Linked DNA regions of Homo sapiens: regions 1 and 3 are each linked to region 2. Evidence: promoter capture Hi-C in 16 types of primary human blood cells and fetal thymus (Javierre and others, 2016). All regions are on one chromosome and are shown on one strand. Each heading gives the region's core, a stretch centred on a gene start or on the middle of the fragment in contact. The rest is flanking DNA. Distances are from core to core; before and after follow the strand shown. Region 1 holds the start of RAB29 (RAB29, member RAS oncogene family). Region 2 holds the start of CTSE (cathepsin E). Region 3 overlaps PM20D1 (peptidase M20 domain containing 1).

Region 1 (4,324 bases), core at 1,257-3,756, 250 kb after region 2:
AATCTTGGCTGGCAATAATGCCTGGATGCAATCACTTTATGACGCAGTTACACATGCTTTCTGATCTCAGTATTTACCATAATAAATCTGCTCCTATAATTGAGGCATACCGCCCTCAAAAACTTATTTGTAAACAGGATTGGACCCAGTTAGAAAAAATGAACGTACTTGTTTAGGAAGATTGCATTGCAGAACAGGCAGAGATGCTGCACAATGATTCCTATGGAATCATTATTAATTGGTCCCCTAAGGGGATGTTTAGCTTGAATTGCACCTCTCAGTCTGCGTGCCACGGCCACACTATGTTCAGCTGGTCTGAACAAAATGGTCAGATGGTAGATATAATAAGAAGTACAGCAAGAGTTCCTATTATCTGGAACCATGGCAGTATAGTGACACCTCAACCTCAAATGATATGGCCCGCTCTAGGAGCTTAACATAAGGATTTAAAATTAAAAGAAGAAATATTTAAAGCATCCGAGGCACACTTGACCTTAATGCCAGGAACTGGAGTGCTTAAAGGAGCCGAAAATGGATAAAAACACTTGGAAGCTCTGTGATTTCAATGATGATTGTGCTTTTAATCTGTGTTGTTTGTCTTTGTATAGTCTGCAGATGTGTATCCTGACTCCTGCGAGAAGTAGCTCACCGTGACAAAGCTGCCTTTGCATTTATCAATTTGCAAATCAGAGAAGAGGGACATGTTGAGAGCAGGCCCCCCAAAATCTGGCCATAAACTGGCCCCAAAACTGGCCATAAACAAAATCTCTGCAGCACTGTAACATGTTCATAATGGCCCTAACGTCCACGCTGGAAGGTTGTAAGTTTACAGGAACGAGGGCAAGGAACACCTGGCCCGCCCAGGGTGGAAAACCGCTTAAAGGCATTCTTAAGCCACAAACAATAGCATGAGTGATCTGTGCCTTAAGGACATGCTCCTGCTGCAGTTAACTAGCCCAACCTATTCCTTTAATTCGGCCCATCCCTTCGTTTCCCATAAGGGATACTTTTAGTTAATTTAATATCTATAGAAACAATGCTAATGACTGGTTTGCTGTTAATAAATACGTGGGTAAATCTCTGTTCGGGGCTCTCAGCTCTAAAAGCTCTAAAGGAAATCAGACCCCTGATTTCCCACTTCACACCTCTATATTTCTGTGTGTGTGTCTTTAATTCCTCTAGCGCCACTGGGTTAGGGTCTCCCCAACAGAGCTGGTCTTGACAGAATATCACTGATCAGAGATAAAGAACAAATAAAGTGAAGATAGATCTTTGACACCAAGGACAATTCACTAAAGAGTTTATCGAATGATTGACTCAGAGACCAAGAATCAGGCCTTAGGAAATACTTAGCGGGAAATGGGATGGAGAGAAACCTGAAAGAAAAAGATAATCATCAGAGAAGTACGGGGATGACAAAGAAAGAACAGCGTCATAGAAGGCATAAGGGAAACAAATGTCAAGGAGTGGTCAACTATGTCAAAACGAATAAGAACAGAGAAAACTGGATCCTTAAAGATGAGTAGCTTGAACTAACCTCCTGTACCTGGGTAACGAACATTCTGGGCAAAATATATTGTGAACCATGCTGATGTTCTTTCGCCACAAAACATAAGTGATAGCCTCTCTATCAAGAGACCTAGATTTCCTAGTGTCTGGTCCTGGGCTGTTTTCCCATGGCCCCGCTGGTTCTCTTCCTCTATTCCTAGAAAAGTATAGAAAATGGAGCTCTCTTTGCTTGCCATTGAGCTCATGTCCTGCCAACTTCTACCCAAGTGACAGGTAGGTCAGTAAAGTTACAGGCTGAGAAATTAAAATTATTTGCCAAACACTAGTTTTATGATTATCTATTAACAACAGCCACAACAAATCAAGAAGGAGTCCCAGTGTATTTCAATTAGCTTCTAGCTCAAGTGATACATGAGTAGTATGGCTAGAATAGGCATTGTAGAAGTATGAATGGAGAACTGTCTCTTGTTTTCTGTCCATCTTTATTGTTATTGCTGGATATTAAATGCTGTAATTTTTGGCATAGGTTTTTTTCCAAAGACTGGTCTCTTGGGTCAAGTTTTCCTGAACTTGCCTGGTATTGGGCAAGTTCACACAGAAAATATGAGTCATTTCACAAAGTCCTGGGCTTGTCTATCTACTTGAAGGAATAGGAAATGGACTTCACTTGGAGCATGATGGATGAGGCTTGGGCTTTTACTAATGAAATAAGTTTCAATCTTAACTCAGTTAAACCTTTAAAGACAGGAGAAAACTATCTGGGGATGGATTCAGGCCAGTGAGATCACGTTGCACAAATCTCCCCTTAAGGGATCTTTACTGACCTAGAATTGTTTCAAAATAAGATTCCAAACTGTCGAGGGAGTTTGAAGCCTTGAAACTTGGTGTAGGTTTGCTTAAAACAAAATAACGAATATACTACATTTCCCAGGAGGCTTCGCGGTGAGCCTCCGCACTCGGCTGGTTCTCTTTACCGCGAGGAAAGCTGGGAAATGTAGTGCCACAGGCAACCCTGCACGTGACGCTTGCGGAGGAAGGGGAGAGAGAGGCGCGCGGGAGGGCGTCTAGGGAATCGAGGTGCCGGCTGCTCCTTCCTCACAATTTGGTTTGTGCTGCAAGGGGAGGGTCCCCATCATCTGGCCCCAGTGGTGTAAGGAGCTGACTGGGATTCAGTCACTGACTTGGAGCCGCTCGGGGGAAGTCCCGGTGGGTGAGGTTCCGCGGCGCCTGGTCCAGTTTCTCGGCAGTCAGGCCAGGAGGGGGTGGGGAAGGTGCGAACAGCCGGGGGCTCGGAGCTCGCGCCCTGCGCCCCACCCAGGTTGCGGCCGCCCGGGGAGGAAGCGCGTATAGGTTGAGTGCAAAGTTTCCTTTTTTGCTTTCTCGTCAGAGCAGCCCAGACAGGCGGTGGGTGGGAATGCCTCACTTCAGTTTGAAGAGGGTCCGGATCCAAAGGGGTTAAAACGAGCGACCCCCGATCCCCGACCACACTTCCCGCCTCCCTAAAACGCACACCCCGCTAGCCATGGGCAGCCGCGACCACCTGTTCAAAGTGCTGGTGGTGGGGGACGCCGCAGTGGGCAAGACGTCGCTGGTGCAGCGATATTCCCAGGACAGCTTCAGCAAACACTACAAGTCCACGGTGGGAGGTGAGACGTCTCGGGGGTGGGGAGGGGGAGGGGGAGGAGGAGGCCCCGACCGCGGACTCGAGCTGGGGACCCAAGTGGGGTGGGGATTTGCTGTCGGTTGTTGGGTCCTTCTTCGGGTCAGGAAGTACTGTCTGGGAACCTAGATGGTGTAATTGCCGGGTGTTTGGTTTACACGCCTCTCTTGAGTTTCCCGTTAGATTTTCCCAAACTGAGCCCACTGCCAGGAGAAAGGTAAGAGCAAAGGCGTGAAGATGAGAAATAGGGAAGGGAGGATGAGGATGAGCAATTGCTGTTTATTGCAGGCGTACTGTGAACTTAAGTCTCCAGCCTTTCAGCTGTCCGGCAAATCTCTCCAATCAGCAGAAGCAGCTGAGATCCTCTGTGGGGCCTCCTGGTTAGGTGCCGGCTGGGGCTGTAGTCCTGCCCCTCTGTTGAGGGAGGAACCGCAAGGTGTTTAACCTGGCTTCAGTGGGAGAACGCAGGAAGCGGAACTGGTCTGAAGGACTGTAGCTTTGTTGTGGGGCTGTGGGTGGGATGGAAGACACAAAATCCCCGAACGAGCCCCTTGGCTACGCAGTCAGATGCCCATGAGGGCTGATGAGCTGTGTTTTTGTCCGTTGATTGCTTAAATAAAGGTAACCAAGGAATTCTTCCAAGAATGTGAAATATACCACTTCTCTGACCTATCTTCCCACCACTTTTTTCCTCAAACTGGAGAAGGTAGGGAGGAAGGGGACACCGAGTTCATTCATTTCTTTCCCGGGTGTGGCCTTTGGACTCAACTATTTTTTCAGAGGCAGAAATGCCTTATTGTTAATTAGAAGGTATTTAGCTAGGAAGAGCTGGTGATGGGGGAGAGTAACTTAAAATTTTATTTCTCTCTGTTAAAAGAACTTGTTTCAAGGGGGGAAAACTCGTACCAATGGAAAAATTGAAAATGTGTGCTCCTGTTCATATGGAAGTTTAAAAAGAAATTAACAAACATTTACATTGCAATTAAAACATTCTCCTTAAGAACCCCCAGTAGGGCCCAGTACCGTGGTTCATACTTGCAATCCCAGCACTTTAGGAGGCTGAGGCGGGAGGATTGCTTGAGCCCAGGAGTTCGAGACCAGCCATGGGAAACATGGCAAGACCCCCACCTCTACAAAAATTAAAGAAGAAAGTAG
Region 2 (4,344 bases), core at 1,183-3,682:
TCAGCAAGAAAACTATTTTGCTTTCTTATCATTTGTGTGTTCCCTGTAATATCACCTTCAATTTCCCTTAAGAACTTTTTCTTTGCATTCATGACTTGGGTAACTGTTTGGTGTAAGAGGTCTAGCTTTCAGCCCTTCTTGGCTTTCAACATGGCTTCCTCACTAGGCTTAATAATTTCTAGCTTTGAATTTAAAATGAGGAACATGCAAATCTTCCTCTCACTTAAACACTTAGAGGTCACTGTAGAATTATTAATTGGCCTAATTTCAATATTGTTGTGTCTCAGGCAACAGGAAGGCCCGAGGGGGAGAGAAAGAGAGGGAGAGAGAGAGATGGGGGAATGACCAGTTAGTAGAGCAATGGAGCAATCAGAACACACAATTACACTTATTAAATTCTCTGTCTTACACGGGTGCAGTTTGTGGTACCCCAAAACAATTACAACAGTAACATCAAAGATCACTGAGTACAGATCACCAAAACAGATAAAATAATCATGAAAAACTTTGAAATATTGCAAGAATTACCAAAATGTGGCACAGAGACACAAAATGAACACACAGTATTGGAAAAATGGTGCTGATAGACTTGCTTGACACAGGTTTGCCACAAACCTTCAATTAAAAAAAAAAAGCAGTATCTGCAAAGTGCAGTAAAGCAGAGTGCAGTACAACAAGTATATCTGTACCTTATTTTGTTTGTTTAATCCTCCTTAAAAACCCATTGATGTAGGTAAGGTATTTGGCAGATGACAAAACTAAGGTATGTGGTGAATAAGCAGTTACGGGCAAAACATGGCAGAGTTTACTGCCAAAATGAATGATCTCCACTTCTAGCCACTTCTGACTCAAGCTGCCCTTCTAGGTTTAGACCACTCTCCCCAGTGAAAGATCAACAAGACGGGCTCCTGGGAAATGCCAAAGAGGCTTTGTTGCCTTGGGTTCAGGGGTCAAAGGTCTAGGCTGTTCCTTAAGTCTTTTTGATGTCTTTTTTTAACATTTTTGGACCCAAGGGTGGGTTTGGCTTAGCTCCATACTCCACGTTTGCTTGCCATTTGAACTTCAGAGATGAAAGGCAGATCCCATAGCACTTAAGAGATTTTCCAGAACACTAGCTGGTCAGGGCAGAGCTAAACCTAAACGCAGGCCATCTACTTCCTACTGCTGAGCTAGTGCCCTCTGGAAGCATTGGCATATGGTGGTGGCCTCTGCTGCCCTGGCTAACTTGAGTCAGGGTCAGGGTCTTCCTACCTGTAACCCCTTCATCCCCACCCCAGGCACTGAAGCCCCACCATCTGTTTATGAGGCGGGTGGCCACAGAGATAGGCTGATGGTGAGGGGGTTTCACACACTGCGGTAACTAAGGCCTGAGCCCCACCCACTCTCCACCCCTGCGCTTAGTCCCACTTGACAGATAGAAGATCCTATTGTCCCTGAGCACTGTTAAGGGCTGAACTTTGTCCTCCAAAATCCATGTTGATGTCCTAACACCTAGTACCTCAGAACGTGACTGTATTTGGAGATAGGGTCTTTAAAGAGGTATTAAGGGTAAACGCAGTCATTAGGGTGGGCCCTACTCCAATATGACTAGCGTCCTTATAAGAAGAGGAAATGTGGATGTGGACACAGCCACACGCTGAGGGAAGACCCATGTGAAGACACAGAGAGAAGGCAGCCATCTGCAAGCCAAGGAGAGAGGCCTCCGAAGCAACCAAGTCTGCCAACACCTTGATCTTGGACTTCCAGCCTCCAGAATAGTGAGAAAATAAATTTCTGTTGTTTAAGCCCCCTGTACTTTGTCATGGCCGCTTTAGTAGACTCATGCGGGCACTTGCTGTAGACGCTGACCCCCTTGACCCTCCCTCGCTGCCCCTGCATTCTCCTCCACACACCCCTGAGCCCCAGCCCCAGATTCATCAAGTCCTTAGAGTCAGGAGAGTGGGCTCCATAAATCTGCAGCTACATTTTCCCATTTCAGGGCCTTTGAGGAGTGCTGGTTTGTGCTTCAAAGTGGGCCAGGGAAGGATAAACTGCCTTTGGAGCATTTGAGAGATTGAGGAGAGAACAGGAATCACCCAGAAAACAGACTGACGAATATTTTGAGTTAGAATCCTGCCACCCATGACAAGTCAGCTCCCACCCCTCCAGAGTCTCCAGCTAGAGCACTTGCAGTAAGAGTTCAGTGGGCCTTTCCAGGCAGCCAGGCATGTGCTGCCCTCCGGATTCATTAACAGGGTTTCTTGGGGTCAGAGGAGGTGCCAAAGCCCTGAGAGAAGCCAAGCCCCAGAGGACTCCCAAGTTCTCCCCGCAGACTCATATTCCTCTTGTAGGTGGGAAAGGGACGGAGAGGTGCAGGGGGAACGCCCTGTTCCACATGCCGTATTTACTCTGGGCATGGCTAATGACTCCAGGGCCTTATCATTCGGCCCTCAGACTGGGCTGGGCAGGTCTGAGAGTTAGGGAAAGTCCGTTCCCACTGCCCTCGGGGAGAGAAGAAAGGAGGGGGCAAGGGAGAAGCTGCTGGTCGGACTCACAATGAAAACGCTCCTTCTTTTGCTGCTGGTGCTCCTGGAGCTGGGAGAGGCCCAAGGATCCCTTCACAGGTGAGAAGACGTCCCCGCACTGTGTTCAGCTGGGTAGTCCCATGCCCTGCAACTCAGGGCTGCTCTGGGGTAGGAAAGCTGATGGGGAGGTGAAGAGGAGGAGAAGCTGAGGGCTTGCGTCAATGCATGGAAGAGACTCATCCAGTGACCGCCTGTGTATGGCCTTAATCTCCAGTCCTCAACAAGTCATCCTCCTGCCTCCACCTCCACGGAGGTGCCTTCCCAAGTCCCAGGGGTCTTCTTGTGTTGCAAAAGAGCAGGAACCTGCAGTTGTGGTTTGTAGCTCAAAGCGCCCCAGGACTTCCCCAGGGGACTGACCATCACTGTCCCCAAGAGTTTTTCTGTCCCTTTAAATCAGCCCTTCGTGATGTTCATGTAAAACTGTAGACCGCCCCACATCTCCCATTTTCCTAGATCTCAAAGACCTCAGCTCCAGGAGGGGAGCCATTTCCACTCTAAGATTCTAAGACTCTATAGGGCAGAGATGAGGCCGGGCAGGCTGAGTGGCAGAGAGGACGCTGATCCCACCTGTATCCTGCGTGCTGTCTTGCAGATCCCCCCCTCCCACCCCATCTTCTCTAGTTGGCCCCTGAGAAAATGGGACGAGAATGGGGGGAAGAGGGAGGCAGAAGTACATCTCCTGCTTACATGGGGGTTTGTCTCCAGGGTGCCCCTCAGGAGGCATCCGTCCCTCAAGAAGAAGCTGCGGGCACGGAGCCAGCTCTCTGAGTTCTGGAAATCCCATAATTTGGACATGATCCAGTTCACCGAGTCCTGCTCAATGGACCAGAGTGCCAAGGAACCCCTCATCAACTACTTGGATGTGAGGCCTCCTGGGGTCAGGGCTGGGGAGAGGTGGGAGCGGGAGGAAGGCCCAGCATTAGGGCATGGCCAGTGCCACATCAGTAGCACCGAAGGCCATTGTGGATTTCTTCACTTGGATGATGATCCATGGGGACTGATTCCCTGGGTCCCCATGGAGTTGGCTAAGCAGGCCCCCATGTACCCAAATGTCAGAGTTCTCTGCAGAAGGAAAGGGCTGGGAGTGAAAGCATCATCCCACACTGAAGGCCCCTGCTTCTGCTCTCAGCTGGGCAGCTTACTGGCTGTGTACCCTTAGGCAAGTTACTTAACCTCTCCCAGCCCCAGTTCCCTGGTCTGTAAAACAGATGGTTCTTCCTCCACTGCCTCTCCTACAATGTATTTATAAGAATCAGGTTAGTGCAAGTAAAATCAAATGAAGTAGCCAGAGGCTTGGTTTGATTTCCTCCTTCATGGCCATTTCTCTGCTCCTTTTACCTTTTATTTTCCAGCGTTGCCACTTCCTAGGCTCTGTAAACTCCAGTCTGTATTACCCCAGGCTCTGGCCCCTGGGAGCTTTCCCCTGGCTTCCTGGTGAGCACCCTTGTCCCTCCCCACCACCCACACCCTCTTTCCTTCTCACTCTTCCTTGCAGATGGAATACTTCGGCACTATCTCCATTGGCTCCCCACCACAGAACTTCACTGTCATCTTCGACACTGGCTCCTCCAACCTCTGGGTCCCCTCTGTGTACTGCACTAGCCCAGCCTGCAGTAAGTGGGGCCAGGAGCACCAGCAGAGAATGTCTGGGGGCTAGTCCTGGGAGGCCAAGCCTGGTACTCTGGGGAAGGGGGGCTTAGGTTCCAGAAACTGGCCATCCCTGCCACACCAGCTTCCACTCTCCATCTTTGAGTCAGCCGTGGAACTGCTTATAGCAGAG
Region 3 (4,341 bases), core at 163-2,662, 180 kb after region 2:
TATTCCCAGCCAGTGGCTGAGCCAAGACACAGGGATCTGGCTTGTTCTCTACGGCTGTTAGTGTGTTTCTGAGACCCTAAGACCTAATCTACCCTTTGGGAGCTGGTTCCCACTTATCCTTGAGGTTGCTAAGCAATTGTTCTAACCAACCAGATAAGCCCAGCCAGACAGTAATTGCCTCCCTATTCCTGATCCTCTAGCAGGGATTGAGCTAACTGAATTTAGCAGCACTCCTGACTGCTAAGGGCCCCTGAGGCAGCTCTAAAGTAGAGAGAGACTCAGGTCTCAGAGACCCAGGCTAAACTAGAGGTGACCCTGTGGTGCTGACCTTGTTCTTTCCCAGTTTCCCTTCCCTGTCAATATAATCCTGAGCAACCCATGGCTATTTGAACCACTTATAAGCAGGTAAAGTATTATCTTTCCTTTTTTCACATCCCTCACCTCAAACCTACCCACCCCCCAGGCCCCTCTCCTTGGCTTAACTGGGCCTGACTAATCATCCCTCAGCCACCAGATACTGCATCTCTAAGTGTGTATATTTAAGACATCTCTAAGACGTCTCTCTCAGTCTTAAAGATCCCCAAGGTTCAGGAAAGTGGGTAATGTTTCCGCCCTTTCCTTCACCCCATTGGTTCTTTCTAACATCTGACCTTGGTCCTTTTGTTTTAGGTTTATGGAGAGAAATCCCTTAACCAATGCAATAATCAGGACCACCACGGCACTCACCATATTCAAAGCAGGGGTCAAGGTAACATCCCTGGTTCCTCCCCATATAGCTTTTCCCTACCGCCCTCCACTCCTCCCTTCCTTGAATCTATCTACTGGCTCTTCCTTCCTTCTGTGTGTGTCAGCTGGATCCAAGCCTAGCCACGCAAAGACATAGGCCTTTCTGAAATCTTGAAGGGAGTTAGACCATTCTTGTAACTGCCAGTACCACCAGCACAACTTCAGGGGGCACCATTCACCTAGAGTACAATGTGACCTTGAAGCACTCTAGTAATCGGGTATATAAGTGAATGATGCCTCTGAATTAATTCCTGGCATAACTCACTGGACCGTCCAGTGTGTCAGCTGTAGTGTTCATCAGAATAATAGCACTGTGTCCTGACATTTGAATGGTGTTTTCATCTCCCCAGGATACTTTGTTACTCCATCTGAGCCTTCTAAGAGTCCTATGAGTATTGCCCCAATACCCAGTTGAGAAAACAGAGGCACAAAGAGGTTGCAACAGCTAATTTGCAACAGCCCAGCTCTGTCCCTGACCACTTAGTGCTTTTTTGCACCATACGAGTTCAAAGAAAGATATGCACTTGGGGAGTCTCCCGGCCTCCAAGGAACAATCCCTCCATAGCCTAACTCTTTTCTCCAGTTAGTCCTGGATTCCTCCTGGTCAGGCAAAAAAGTCAGATTTTACAACTGGACCTGGGAAACCACCAATCCCTGCTAGAAGGTCGGGAATGGGGAGGCAATTACTGCCTGACTGGCTTATCTGATTGGTTAGAACAATTGCTCAGCAGCCTCAAGGATAAGAGGGAACCAGCTCCCAAAGGTTATGTTAGGTCTTAGGGTCTCAGAAACATACTAACAGCCCTAGAGAACAAGCCAGATCCCTCTGTCTTGGCTCAGTCACTGGCTGGGAATAGGTGAGAACAGGCAGAGCACTGGCCAGCACTAGGGTCCTTTTCTTACTCTGAAGGTTACTTTTCTGTCACTCTTTTGTTCCTGCCTGACCAGGAATATGTGAGGAGTATGTGTTCTTCTCATCCCCCTCAAGGATCAAACCTGATGTGAGCCCCGTGCTATGCCATGATGGGGGTCAACAGAGGCTCTGGCTGCCCCATCGTGAGTAAGCACTAATGTTAACAGCTGCAGAAATGTCCTGGGTGTGCTGGGAAAGAAAGTGCACACAGAAGGCTTCTAATAGCACAGCATGGGGCCAAAACAGAGATATCTGGGTGATCAGAGAAAGCAGCCTTGCTCTGAACATCTCTGTGACCCCCTGCAGCACCAAGAAGCAGGAAGGTCTGGCTTAAAGCAGAGACACCCCTTCAGCTCTGAATATAACATGTCACTTAGTTCAGAGAAGACAAGAGGCAGACTAGAAAAGCTAAGCCTTGGGTCCTTAAGTCAAATCAGCCAACTCTGCCTGAGCTGAGGAAATTAGCATTTCCTGGGCAGGCAGATGTAGAAGATTTGAGGTTGACTCAAGCCAGGGTTTTGTGCTTCTCTCTCTAGTTCAATGTCATCCCCCCAGTGGCCCAGGCCACAGTCAACTTCCGGATTCACCCTGGACAGACAGTCCAAGAGGTATGTACCATATGTTCCAGACAACAACTCATGCAGCATCAGGGAGATGTGGCCCTCAGGGCCCGGGTTTAACTACAGTCCTAGGGCTGGTCCAGTGTCCCATTTATTCAACCAACATTTTTCAAAGACAACCTATGCACCGGATACTTCATTAGGATTGGAGATCCTGGGTTTGGGTAAACATGGGGTCTGAAATGGAAGATGAGTATGAATAAATGATAGCAATACCTATAGTAACAAACATTATATATAACATTATATATATGTAGTAGTGTAGTAGGCTTGCTGTGTATTTGGCACCTTTCTTCCTTTCTTTTTTTTTTTTTTTTTTTTTTTTTTTTGAGTCAGAGTCTTGCTCTGTCGCCCAGGCTGGAGTGCAGTGGCACGATCTTGGCTCACTACAACCTCCGCCTCCCGGGTTCAAGCGATTCTCCTGCCTCAGATTCCCAAGTAGCTGGGACTATAGGCACGTGCCACTATGCCCGGCTAATTTTTAGTATTTTCAGTATTTTGTATTTTTTGTATTTTTTGTACTTTGTATTTTTGTAATTTTTTGTATTTTGTATTTTTAGTAGAGACGGTGTTTCACCGTGTTAGCCAGAGTGGTCTTGATCTCCTGACCTTGTGAGCCACCCGCCTCGGCCTTCCAAAGGGTTGGGATTACAGACATGAGCCACCACACCCAGCCATATTTGGCACCTTTCTAAGGTATACCCATACATTTTAATCCTCACAACTACCCACCCTAAATCTGCATTTAACTGGTGAAAATTGAGGTACAGAGTACCAGAGCAATCAAACAGCATACCCAAGATTATATATCTAGCAGTCTAGTTCCAGAGTTTGTGCTTTTAGCCACAACCCTAAACTATGATTATAAAAATTAGAGGTGAACAAATTGCCATAGGACCACTGCAAAGAAAGAAATTCATGCTACTTCTTAGGGTCAAAAAAGTCTTTTCTGACTACTAAAATGTTGAACTGGGCCTTAGAGGAAAAACAGAACTTGGCTAGAAGTAAGACATTCATTGTGGCTTAACGAATAGAATAAACTGGGGACAAGTAATAGGAGATGAAAACTGATAGGAAATGGAGTTGTAGTTTAGGGATCTAGGCCTTGTATGCTATGCTGAGGAGTTTGGGCCCTAATCTGTGAAATCTGTGGCAGGAGAGAACTTTTAGAGGTCTTCAACCAAATACTCAGATTTGCTTTTAGAGAGGTCATGCTAGCAGCATTGCAGAGGGAGTGCTGGAAGAGAAGGAGACAGAGAGCTATTTCAGCATCTTAGGTAGTGCATGTGAAGGTCTGGACTGAGGCCATGCTCGTGGGGTGGAGAAGAGAGCAACCACCAGAGGTGGGAGAGAGGTGGGTTCAATAGGATGTGGTATGTATATGGGTATGGAGCGAGAGAAAAGCAGGATGGCTCCAAGGTTTTTAACCTGGGTAGTTGACCAAGTAGTTAATGCCTTTGACTAAGATTGGGAATTCAGAAATTAAAACAAGTTCAAGAATATCATAATTTGGAAGTTTGAGAAGCTTATAACATATGAAATAGGCAATTATAAATACCTCAGGTCTGGAGAGAGATATGAACTAGAGATATAGGCTGGAGTGTCATTAACATCATGGGAACCTCTAGATTCAATAAAAGCCCATGGGAAGAAGGTGCAGAGAGCTAGGAGAGAAAAGAGTTGAGGCCAGAGCCTTGCAATGGTCTGCTACAAACATCAGTTTAAAAATGAATGTATAATTGCAAACCACGATGAGTGCTATAATGAAGAGGAACCTGGTGCTTGTTAGAGAATATAACAAGGAACCAGACCCCATCTGGGAATCAGGCAGGGCTTCCTAAGGCAGTAATGTTTAAGCTGAAAGCTGAAGGGTGAGTAGAAGTTACACAGAATGTCTGACATCCACAGTAAATGCCAGCTTATTTAAACATCAGGCTGAGCTAAAAGGAATTCAAAAGGTAAACCCAATGCTTCAAAAACAAAAAAAAGATCCAAAAAGACAACCCAGTGACTATCAGATGA

Evidence for each region. Contacts are between HindIII fragments. The CHiCAGO score rates a contact against its expected background, and 5 or more counts as called.
Region 1: the fragment with the promoter of RAB29 here is called in contact with the fragment with the promoter of CTSE in region 2 in 3 of 17 cell types (M2 macrophages, M0 macrophages and M1 macrophages); the score reaches 6.1 in M2 macrophages.
Region 3: a fragment that was not itself captured here is called in contact with the fragment with the promoter of CTSE in region 2 in 1 of 17 cell types (naive CD8 T cells); the score reaches 5.5 in naive CD8 T cells.

Annotation. Positions count from the first base shown.
Region 1 is chr1:205,773,664-205,777,987 of GRCh38, reverse strand. It overlaps RAB29 (RAB29, member RAS oncogene family), which reads left to right and starts at 2,506. Exons shown (of 6, transcript NM_003929.3): 1 at 2,506-2,715; 2 at 2,902-3,155. The coding sequence starts at 3,032. RefSeq lists an enhancer at 3,592-3,641. The HindIII fragment of the contact is 8,570 bases long and covers 1-4,324 here.
Region 2 is chr1:206,021,983-206,026,326 of GRCh38, reverse strand. CTSE (cathepsin E) reads left to right here and starts at 2,432. Exons shown (of 9, transcript NM_001910.4): 1 at 2,432-2,603; 2 at 3,270-3,426; 3 at 4,060-4,177. The coding sequence starts at 2,536. The HindIII fragment of the contact is 10,319 bases long and covers 1-4,344 here.
Region 3 is chr1:205,838,218-205,842,558 of GRCh38, reverse strand. It overlaps PM20D1 (peptidase M20 domain containing 1), which reads left to right. Exons shown (of 13, transcript NM_152491.5): 8 at 344-405; 9 at 670-748; 10 at 2,236-2,307. Among named protein-coding and RNA genes, the nearest start is that of PM20D1, 9.7 kb to the left of the region's middle. The HindIII fragment of the contact is 4,868 bases long and covers 1-3,846 here.